Linked DNA regions of Homo sapiens: all the other regions are linked to region 2. Evidence: promoter capture Hi-C in 16 types of primary human blood cells and fetal thymus (Javierre and others, 2016). All regions are on one chromosome and are shown on one strand. Each heading gives the region's core, a stretch centred on a gene start or on the middle of the fragment in contact. The rest is flanking DNA. Distances are from core to core; before and after follow the strand shown.

Region 1 (2,742 bases), core at 48-2,547, 91 kb after region 2:
GAGTCAATGTACTAGCTACTATAAGAAAAAGAAACTGAAGCACAGATGTTAGAGAAATTTGAGGAATTAGAAGTACTAGAAAATGGCTGAACTGCGACACTGCCCCTGCAGTGGGCTTATTCTGGTGAGCATTTTTTTTTTTTCCCGAGACAGGGTCTCGCTCTGTTGCCCAGGCTGGAGTGCAATGGCCAGATCTTGGCTCATTGCAACCTCTGCCTCCCAGGTTTAAGCTATTCTTCCGCCTCAGCCTCCTGAGTAGCTGAGATTACAGGCACCCACCACAATGCCCAGCTAATTTTTTGTATTTTTAGTAGAGACAGGGTTTCACCATGTTGGCCAGGCTGGTCTTAAACTCCTGGCCTCAAGTGATCTGCCTGCCTCGACCTCCCAAAGTGCTGGGATTACAGGAGTGAGCCACTGCGCCCAGCCCTGCTGAGCATTCTTCATAAAATGTACCTGAAATGAGACAAGTCTTTCTCATGAGTAACAACCAAGGACTTCAGAATAGTGCTCTCTCAGGACATTGTCTCTTAAGGTAGAACACAATTCATGTGAAGCTTACAGAATGGGGTCATATGTTTCAATAGCAACAGTAATTAGGAAGAGATACATGATGAGAAAAGCCAAGGCCTTATACATTTTGAAAAACTGTACAAAACCCATGCTGATATTGAAAATACCTGCAGATGTTGAAAAACCAGATAGTGAAATTCTAGTTATGAGTGACAATTCATGGGTATTCTTTTGTTTTTTGATTTTTTTGTTCTTGTTGTTGTTTTTTATTGAGATGGAGTCTCGCTCCGTCACCCAGGCTGGAGCGTGGTGGCACAATCTCGGCTCACTGCAATATCCACCTCCCAGGTTCAAGCAATTCTCCTGTCTCAGCCTCCTAAGTAGCTGAGACTACAGGTGCTTGCCATCACAGCCGGCTAATTTTTGTATTTTTAGTAGAGATGGGGTTTCACCTTGTTGGTCAGGCTGGTCTTGAACTCCTGACCTCAGGCGATCCATCTGTCTTGGCCTCCCAAATTGCTGGGATTACAGGCGTAAGCCACCATGCCCAGCCGGGTGTTCTTTTACAAGTAGAAAGACATCTATTAAAATTAGTGTAAGACTATTGCCTGACATGAGTTTCCAGTTAAGGGGTACCTGAAACTTCAACATGAGAATATGTTGTCTGCAAACTAGAATTTGAAAAGCAATGCTTATTTTTCCCTAGATATTAAAATTAGAACAAAAAAAGACACCACCATGTAGCTGATCTTACAGAATGATTTAGAAAAGAAAGAGGAAGTCTTTCATCATCTCATTATGACCACCAGAGGTGAAACAGTGAGAGGAACTCACATACCCATAACTAAAGATAAATGTAAATGACAGTGTCCCAGTATGCCCCAGTTCCATTAAACAAAGTTATTTGGAGGAAAATATCACATTGGAAACCATACTCCATAACACCAAGGCCAGGGATCAGTACAAGAACATTAATACCTTCAATGAATTGTCAGGCATAATAACACAAGTAACAGAGGCAGATTCCCTGAGGTCAAATTCTATGAAATACATTTGACCATACAGTTGGACTTGGAGAAAACAGAGCCAAGCATATACAGTAACATTGCCCAAGATAATAGGCAATCTTAAGCAATTAAAACCATTTCCCTGATTCCAACTAACCAGAATGATGCTGCTTCTGTTTTTAAGCACATATCCTCCAGAACACATATATTAGAAAATAGTAGCAAAGAACCTTCCAACTTTTTAATGAAGACCACTGCACTTGACATAGCACCTGACATGATGAAACATCTAAATCACATGCTTCTTAAGAATTAGATTGAATGGCCAGATAGGGTTACCAGAGAAAATAAGGGTTGAGTTGGGCCTTCAGTGACAAAAAGCTATCCATGAGAATATCTGGTGACTATTCCAAGAAAAGAGAACTGTAAGTGCTAAACTGTAGGAGGAAAGAGCTGAGTAAATTTGTTTATGCTGCAGATAAATTTGAAGCAAACCGTTTCTGCTGTAACCTAATTTATAAGCTTTCATTTAGAATTTTTTTTCCCATCTGAATTTGGTTGAAACTGATCTCTAAAATTTCTTAAATTTGAAAACAATTACATTTAGAATAGTTGTTTCCCTATAAACACTTTTTCTAACATTTCAGTCACTCTTTAATTATTTAGTATCTGTTATGGTCCATACCTTAATGGGTTGTAATAGTGGTAAATTTACTTCTGTTGTTTACTTACTATGTTCCAGGCATTGTTCTAAATAAGTCATTTATATGATTCAGCAGCCAGCAGCCAACAGCCCAATAACCCTATGAGGTAGGTAGTATTATTGCCTCCACTTTGGAGATGAGAAAATTGAGGTAAACAGATTGCTACCTGTGCAAGGTCACACAACTAATAGGTAACTGAGCTAGGATACGAACCATGCATGACATGTCTTGATGTTAAGATTTTGATCTTTCTACTATTCTTCAGTAAGTTTACAGTCACTAATGTAGCAAAATATCTCAGTAAATTTAAAGCCAAGCAGGAGATACGAACAAAGGTAATTTACACTTTAGTTATAACAGATACTCATCCCAGTAGACCGTGCAGTGCATGAGTTTATAGACACTAAATGCTTTGTTCATCACTGCATATCCAGTAGCTTGTAGTTTGGTGCGCGCGCACACACACACACACACACACACACACCCCTTGTAGTTTGGCACACACACACACAAAATGT
Region 2 (2,899 bases), core at 255-2,754:
GAGGTGTGATATCATCTCTGAGTCTTTCCCATTTTTCTCCCCATGCAACCTATCAACCAACAGTTGAAAACATTTCATCTCCTCATACCTTTCTATTCATCCCTCTTCTCTCCATCCACACTGGCATTATCCTCATCCAGATCATCATCTCTTATCTGATCTCCTTGATTCTCCAGTCACTCCCCCTGAAATTAATTCTCCATACTGCAGCCAAACTGATTTTTTAAAATGCAGATGTAATCATGTTAATCAGATATTTAAAACCCATCTTTGTACTTGAATTACCTTTAGGATAAATTCAAGAATGCATGATATGACCTGTATAATGATTCATGTTCTCACCATGCTTTTAACCCTAATTTCATTGTTAGACCCTCCCCTTCCATAGTTTTTAAAGTCCAAGGCATACTTCATTTCTCTGTGTTCCTCAAAATGCCCATCTGAAATATTCCTCCTTCTCCTGGCTAGTTCCTTCAGATCACAATGTATTTTTCATTACCTCAGGAAAGCTTTCACTGATGTCCCAAGTCCGACTTTGATCTTAATTATTTTATTTTTGACAGACACTTAACCAGCACTTACAAACCACTTTGTAAATATTAATTCATTAGATGCCTACGATAATAATCATAGGAGACAAATATTATTACCCCATTTTACAGGTGAGGAAACAAAGGTATCTATAACTTGCCCAAGCTTATAGATAGTAAGTCACATAACCAGGATTCTAATATTGATAATTTGGTTCCAGATCCCATATTCCCAAGCACTAAGGTATGCAGCCTCCTAGGTACAAGAAGTCTTTTCTAGGTATTTCTATATTACTTTTTATAAATGCATACATTATGACATACTTCGTTTACTTGTCTGCCAATTTTTCTAGCTTGTGAGCTCTGTAAGAGCAAGAATTATCTCTAACTTATTTGTGCCATGTCCTTCTTTATATTTTTAAAATATAAAAGTGAAAAAAGTAATGATATTACCAACTATAGCTGACAACAAGTATTTACAAGAGTGAAGGAGATAATATATTTGTAATTACTCGAGAAATGACTTAAATAAAAAATTATTTCTTCAGTTCAGAATATTTTAACAGATCCTTTAGTGCCGAGCATTCAAAACAGTGATAATGCAGTGTATGGACTTTTCTGGATTCAAATTCAAACAAACCAACAGCAAAGGACATTTTGGAGAGAACTGGGGAAAACCAAATGCAGTATAAATTACACCAAGGAATTATTGCTCAAGTTGTTGATTGTGAACGTTTTATTACAATTATCTTTTAGAAGGCCTTACCTATTAAAAATACTTAGTGAAGTATTTAAAGGAAAAAAAATGATGTCTGGGATTTGTTTCGAATGTTCCGGATGTATTTATGAATTACTTTTTCAAAGAGGAAAACTTTTTTAATGAAAAAAAAAACATGGAGACACATGGTGGCGCTACAGGATAAGACGAAAACAGTACATAGGCTGGCACGGTGAGCTTCGCTATTCAGGAGAACAGAAAGCATCCAACCCACTGAAAAGACAGGCATTAAAGGAGCTTCGCCTACAGAGCTGCTGGAGGATACACTCTCCAGGGGGTTCCTGTTAAAAACCAGAGCTTCAGCTTCCAAAATTACGGCTGAGCTTCAGTTTTTCCACAAGAGATTGCCTAAAGGAACCATGGAGATCAGAGGGGCACTCGATCTGCGAAAAAGGCAAGTTCTAATATTCCTTGTTTTGCTGGGATTGTCTCGGGCAGGTACTGAATCTGCACACTATTCTGTGGCAGAGGAAACAGAAATTGGCTCTTTTGTGGCTAATCTAGCGAGGGACCTAGGGCTGGGGGTGGAGGAGCTGTCTTCACGTGAAGCCCGGGTAGTGTCTGATGATAATAAAAAGTATTTGCACCTTGATTTGCTGACTGGGAATTTGCTCCTAAATGAGAAACTAGACCGAGACGAGCTGTGTGGCTCCACCGAGCCCTGTGTGCTGCATTTTCAGGTGGTTTTGGAAAACCCTTTACAGTTTTTTCGGTTTGAGCTGTGTGTCAAAGACATAAATGATCACTCCCCTACATTTCTAGACAAGGAAATACTTATTAAAATATCAGAAGGTACCACTGTTGGAGCTACCTTTCTAATGGAGAGTGCTCAAGATTTGGATGTCGGAAGCAACAGTCTCCAAAACTACACAATTAGCCCCAATTCTCACTTCTACATTAAAATTCCCGACAGTAGTGACAGAAAGATATACCCAGAGCTGGTCCTAGATAGAGCTTTAGATTATGAACAGGAAGCTGAACTCAGATTAACACTCACAGCAGTGGATGGTGGATCCCCGCCCAAGTCTGGGACAACTTTGGTTCTCATCAAGGTGTTGGACATCAATGATAATGCCCCTGAGTTTCCTCAGAGTCTCTATGAGGTGCAAGTCCCCGAGGACAGACCCCTTGGCTCCTGGATTGCCACCATCTCAGCTAAGGATCTGGATGCAGGAAACTATGGAAAAATATCTTACACATTTTTCCATGCATCAGAAGATATTCGTAAAACATTTGAAATTAATCCAATATCTGGGGAAGTTAATTTGAGATCACCCCTGGATTTTGAAGTAATACAGTCCTACACTATAAATATTCAGGCAACAGATGGTGGGGGTCTTTCAGGAAAATGCACCCTTCTAGTTAAAGTTATGGATATAAACGACAACCCACCAGAAGTGACCATATCGTCGATTACAAAGAGAATTCCAGAGAATGCCTCAGAGACCCTAGTAGCTCTTTTTAGTATCCTAGACCAAGACTCTGGAGACAATGGGAGGATGATTTGCTCTATTCAAGATAACCTCCCTTTTTTCCTGAAACCGACCTTCAAGAACTTTTTCACTCTAGTTTCTGAAAAAGCACTGGACAG
Region 3 (2,700 bases), core at 44-2,543, 110 kb after region 2:
TATTAAAAATTGTGAGATGCAACTAAAACTAATTAGGAGTAAGTTTATAGACAAATGCAATAATTTTTTTAAAAGCAAACAAAATTATTTAAAATACATGAATTTAGCTTGCCATTCAAGAAGTAAGATAAAAAACATACAATGAGTATATACTAAAATAAAATGATGGAAAAAATAACAAAGAGTTACATTTTTGAAATGCAACCATGGAAGAGTTCTGAGGATGAAATAATGGAAGCAGACAATAAATGTAATAAAACCAGTGGGGAGAAAATGAAAATTCTGTCAAGTCTAACGTTAGGACTCATGTAAGAGAGCCAGGCACAATGGCACACCTATAATCCCAGGTACTGAGTAGGCTGAGGCAGTAGGATTGCTTGAGCCCAGGAGTTTGAATCCAGCCGGGGCAGTATAACAAGACCCAATCTCTATAAAACAAAAAAACACAAACACAAACACAAAAATAAAAATAAAAAACAAAAGCAAAATATACCATAGTAGCTCTACAAGAAAACATGGTGAGTTGGTATCAATTATTTCCAATATATTTTTCTTCAGTCTTGTAAGAGGAATGGATGAAAGTAAAAATGAGAAAATTTCAATAAGGAAGGAGCCAAAAGGCAAACAGATTAAAGTGTCACCAGAAATGGGCAATTCCACTTATGCCACATACAAAAATTAATTCAAAATGGATCAAAGAAGCAATATTCAGAAGCAATAAAACCCTTTTAGTTATTATGTTTAAGAACTAAAACTATACAACTCTTAGAAGAAAACAGGAGGAAACCTTCATAACATTGATTTTTGGCAATGATTTCTTGGATATGACACCAAAAGCACAAGCAACAAAAGAAAAAAATTGTATACTGGACTTTATCACAGTTAAAAACTATATGCAGCAAAGAACAATATCAATAGAGTGAAAAGGCAGCCCACAGAAAGAGAGAAAATGTTTCCAAATCATGTATCTGAGAATGGATATCCAGAATAAAGAACTCGAACTCAACAACAAAGAATCCCAAACAATTGGATGTTAAAATGAGCAAAGGACTTGAATAGACATTTCTCCAAAGATGATATACAAATGGCCAAAACCATATGAAACAATGTTCAACATCACTAGTCATTAGGGAAATGCAAATCAAAACCATAATGAGATACTACTCCACATTCATTAGAATTGCTGTCATAAAAGAAAAGAAAAGAAATGTTAACAAGAATATGGAGAAATTGGAATTCTTGTGCATTGCTGGTGAATATAAAATGACACAACTGCTGTGGAAAATGGTATGGTGACTCCTCAAAAATTTAAACATAGAATTACCATATAATCCAGCAATTCCACTCTGGTTATTACCCAAAAGAAGTGAAAATAGGGACTTCAACAGATATTTGTACACCTATGTTTATGGCATCATTAGTCACAATAGTTGAAAAGTGGAAGTAACCCAAGTGTCCATTGACAGATGAATGGGTAAATAAAAAGTGGTTCACACATACAATGGGCTGTTATTTAGCCTTAAAAAGGAAGGGAATTCTGTTACATGCTACAATATGGACGAACTTCAAAGACATGATATCAAGTGAAATAAACCTGTTATAAAATGACAAATACTGTATGATTCCTCATATATGAAGTTCCTAGATTAGTCAAATTCATAGAGAAAAAAGGTAGAATGGTAGTTGCCAGGGACTGGGTGAAAGGCAATGGGGAGTTGCTATTTAATAAGTACAGAGTTTCAGTTGGGGAGGATGAAAAAGTTCTGGAAGTGGATGGTGGTAATGGTCACACCAGAATGTAATTTGAATGTACTTAATGTCACAGAATTGTATGCTTGACTATGGTCAAAATGGTAAAGATGAAACAAGAGTAAGAAGACATCCACTGCATTGTATTTTACACCCTTGGAAAATGAATATCAGAAAAAGAACTTGACAACCTCAAACAATTTTGAGTGACTGATTCCTAGTGTGGTGAAAAACCCCTTCCGGCTCTAGCTTTATCAAATAGACCTGCTTTCTGTTTCTGTAATGTTCCATGCTGTCTCTTACCTTCAAGCATTTGTTCAGAGGTTCTAGAACACTTCTTCAGCCTTTTTCTTGATTCAATCCTACTTTTTATGATTCAGCTTCAATCATGCCCTCAAAAAGACTTTTCTGACCCCAAATCTAGACTGGATACCCCTCCTAGGTATTCCTCCATCACCCAGTGTTTCCTACCTCATATCACAGCAGTTACCATACTCTATTATACTCTCTTTACTTTCTTATGTCCTCCTCCAACCTTCACGCTTGAGACCAGGGCCTGTGTTTATCATGTTCACCATTTCTAGCTCCAGCTGCAATCATGCAAAGTGGGAGGCACATGTACCCAATTAAGTGTCTGATGATTCAATAATTTAAAGGCAGATTTTGAAGGTAAATGCAAAGCCATCAACCATAAACGTTCAAAATATATAACCTTAGAAGAAAACGTAGCTAACGTTTCTTAATTGATCTTACTGCTTCTGATTATACAATAAGAGATGGAAGATGTTTGGAGCAAGGGCAGTGGTGGCATTGATTAATGCCTTGAGCAGTCAATAATACTTTCCTAGCAACTATTATCAAGATCATGTTCATTTATACCATTCTTATTAATCCTGATAAAAAGATTCCTGTTTTGAAAGATCTAATTCTAGGGTATCTTAGAGCTGTAAG

Evidence for each region. Contacts are between HindIII fragments. The CHiCAGO score rates a contact against its expected background, and 5 or more counts as called.
Region 1: a fragment that was not itself captured here is called in contact with the fragment with the promoter of PCDHB14 in region 2 in 1 of 17 cell types (M1 macrophages); the score reaches 5.8 in M1 macrophages.
Region 3: a fragment that was not itself captured here is called in contact with the fragment with the promoter of PCDHB14 in region 2 in 2 of 17 cell types (M1 macrophages and monocytes); the score reaches 6.2 in M1 macrophages.

Annotation. Positions count from the first base shown.
Region 1 is chr5:141,312,592-141,315,333 of GRCh38, forward strand. No RefSeq gene overlaps it. Among named protein-coding and RNA genes, the nearest start is that of TAF7, 6.8 kb to the right of the region's middle. The HindIII fragment of the contact is 1,485 bases long and covers 556-2,040 here.
Region 2 is chr5:141,221,839-141,224,737 of GRCh38, forward strand. It overlaps PCDHB14 (protocadherin beta 14), which reads left to right and starts at 1,505. Exons shown (of 1, transcript NM_018934.4): 1 at 1,505-2,899. The coding sequence starts at 1,668. It also overlaps PCDHB@. The HindIII fragment of the contact is 16,360 bases long and covers 695-2,899 here.
Region 3 is chr5:141,335,921-141,338,620 of GRCh38, forward strand. The region is part of intron 1 of PCDHGA1 (protocadherin gamma subfamily A, 1); the gene reads left to right. It also overlaps PCDHG@. Among named protein-coding and RNA genes, the nearest start is that of PCDHGA2, 1.5 kb to the right of the region's middle. The HindIII fragment of the contact is 3,193 bases long and covers 1-2,700 here.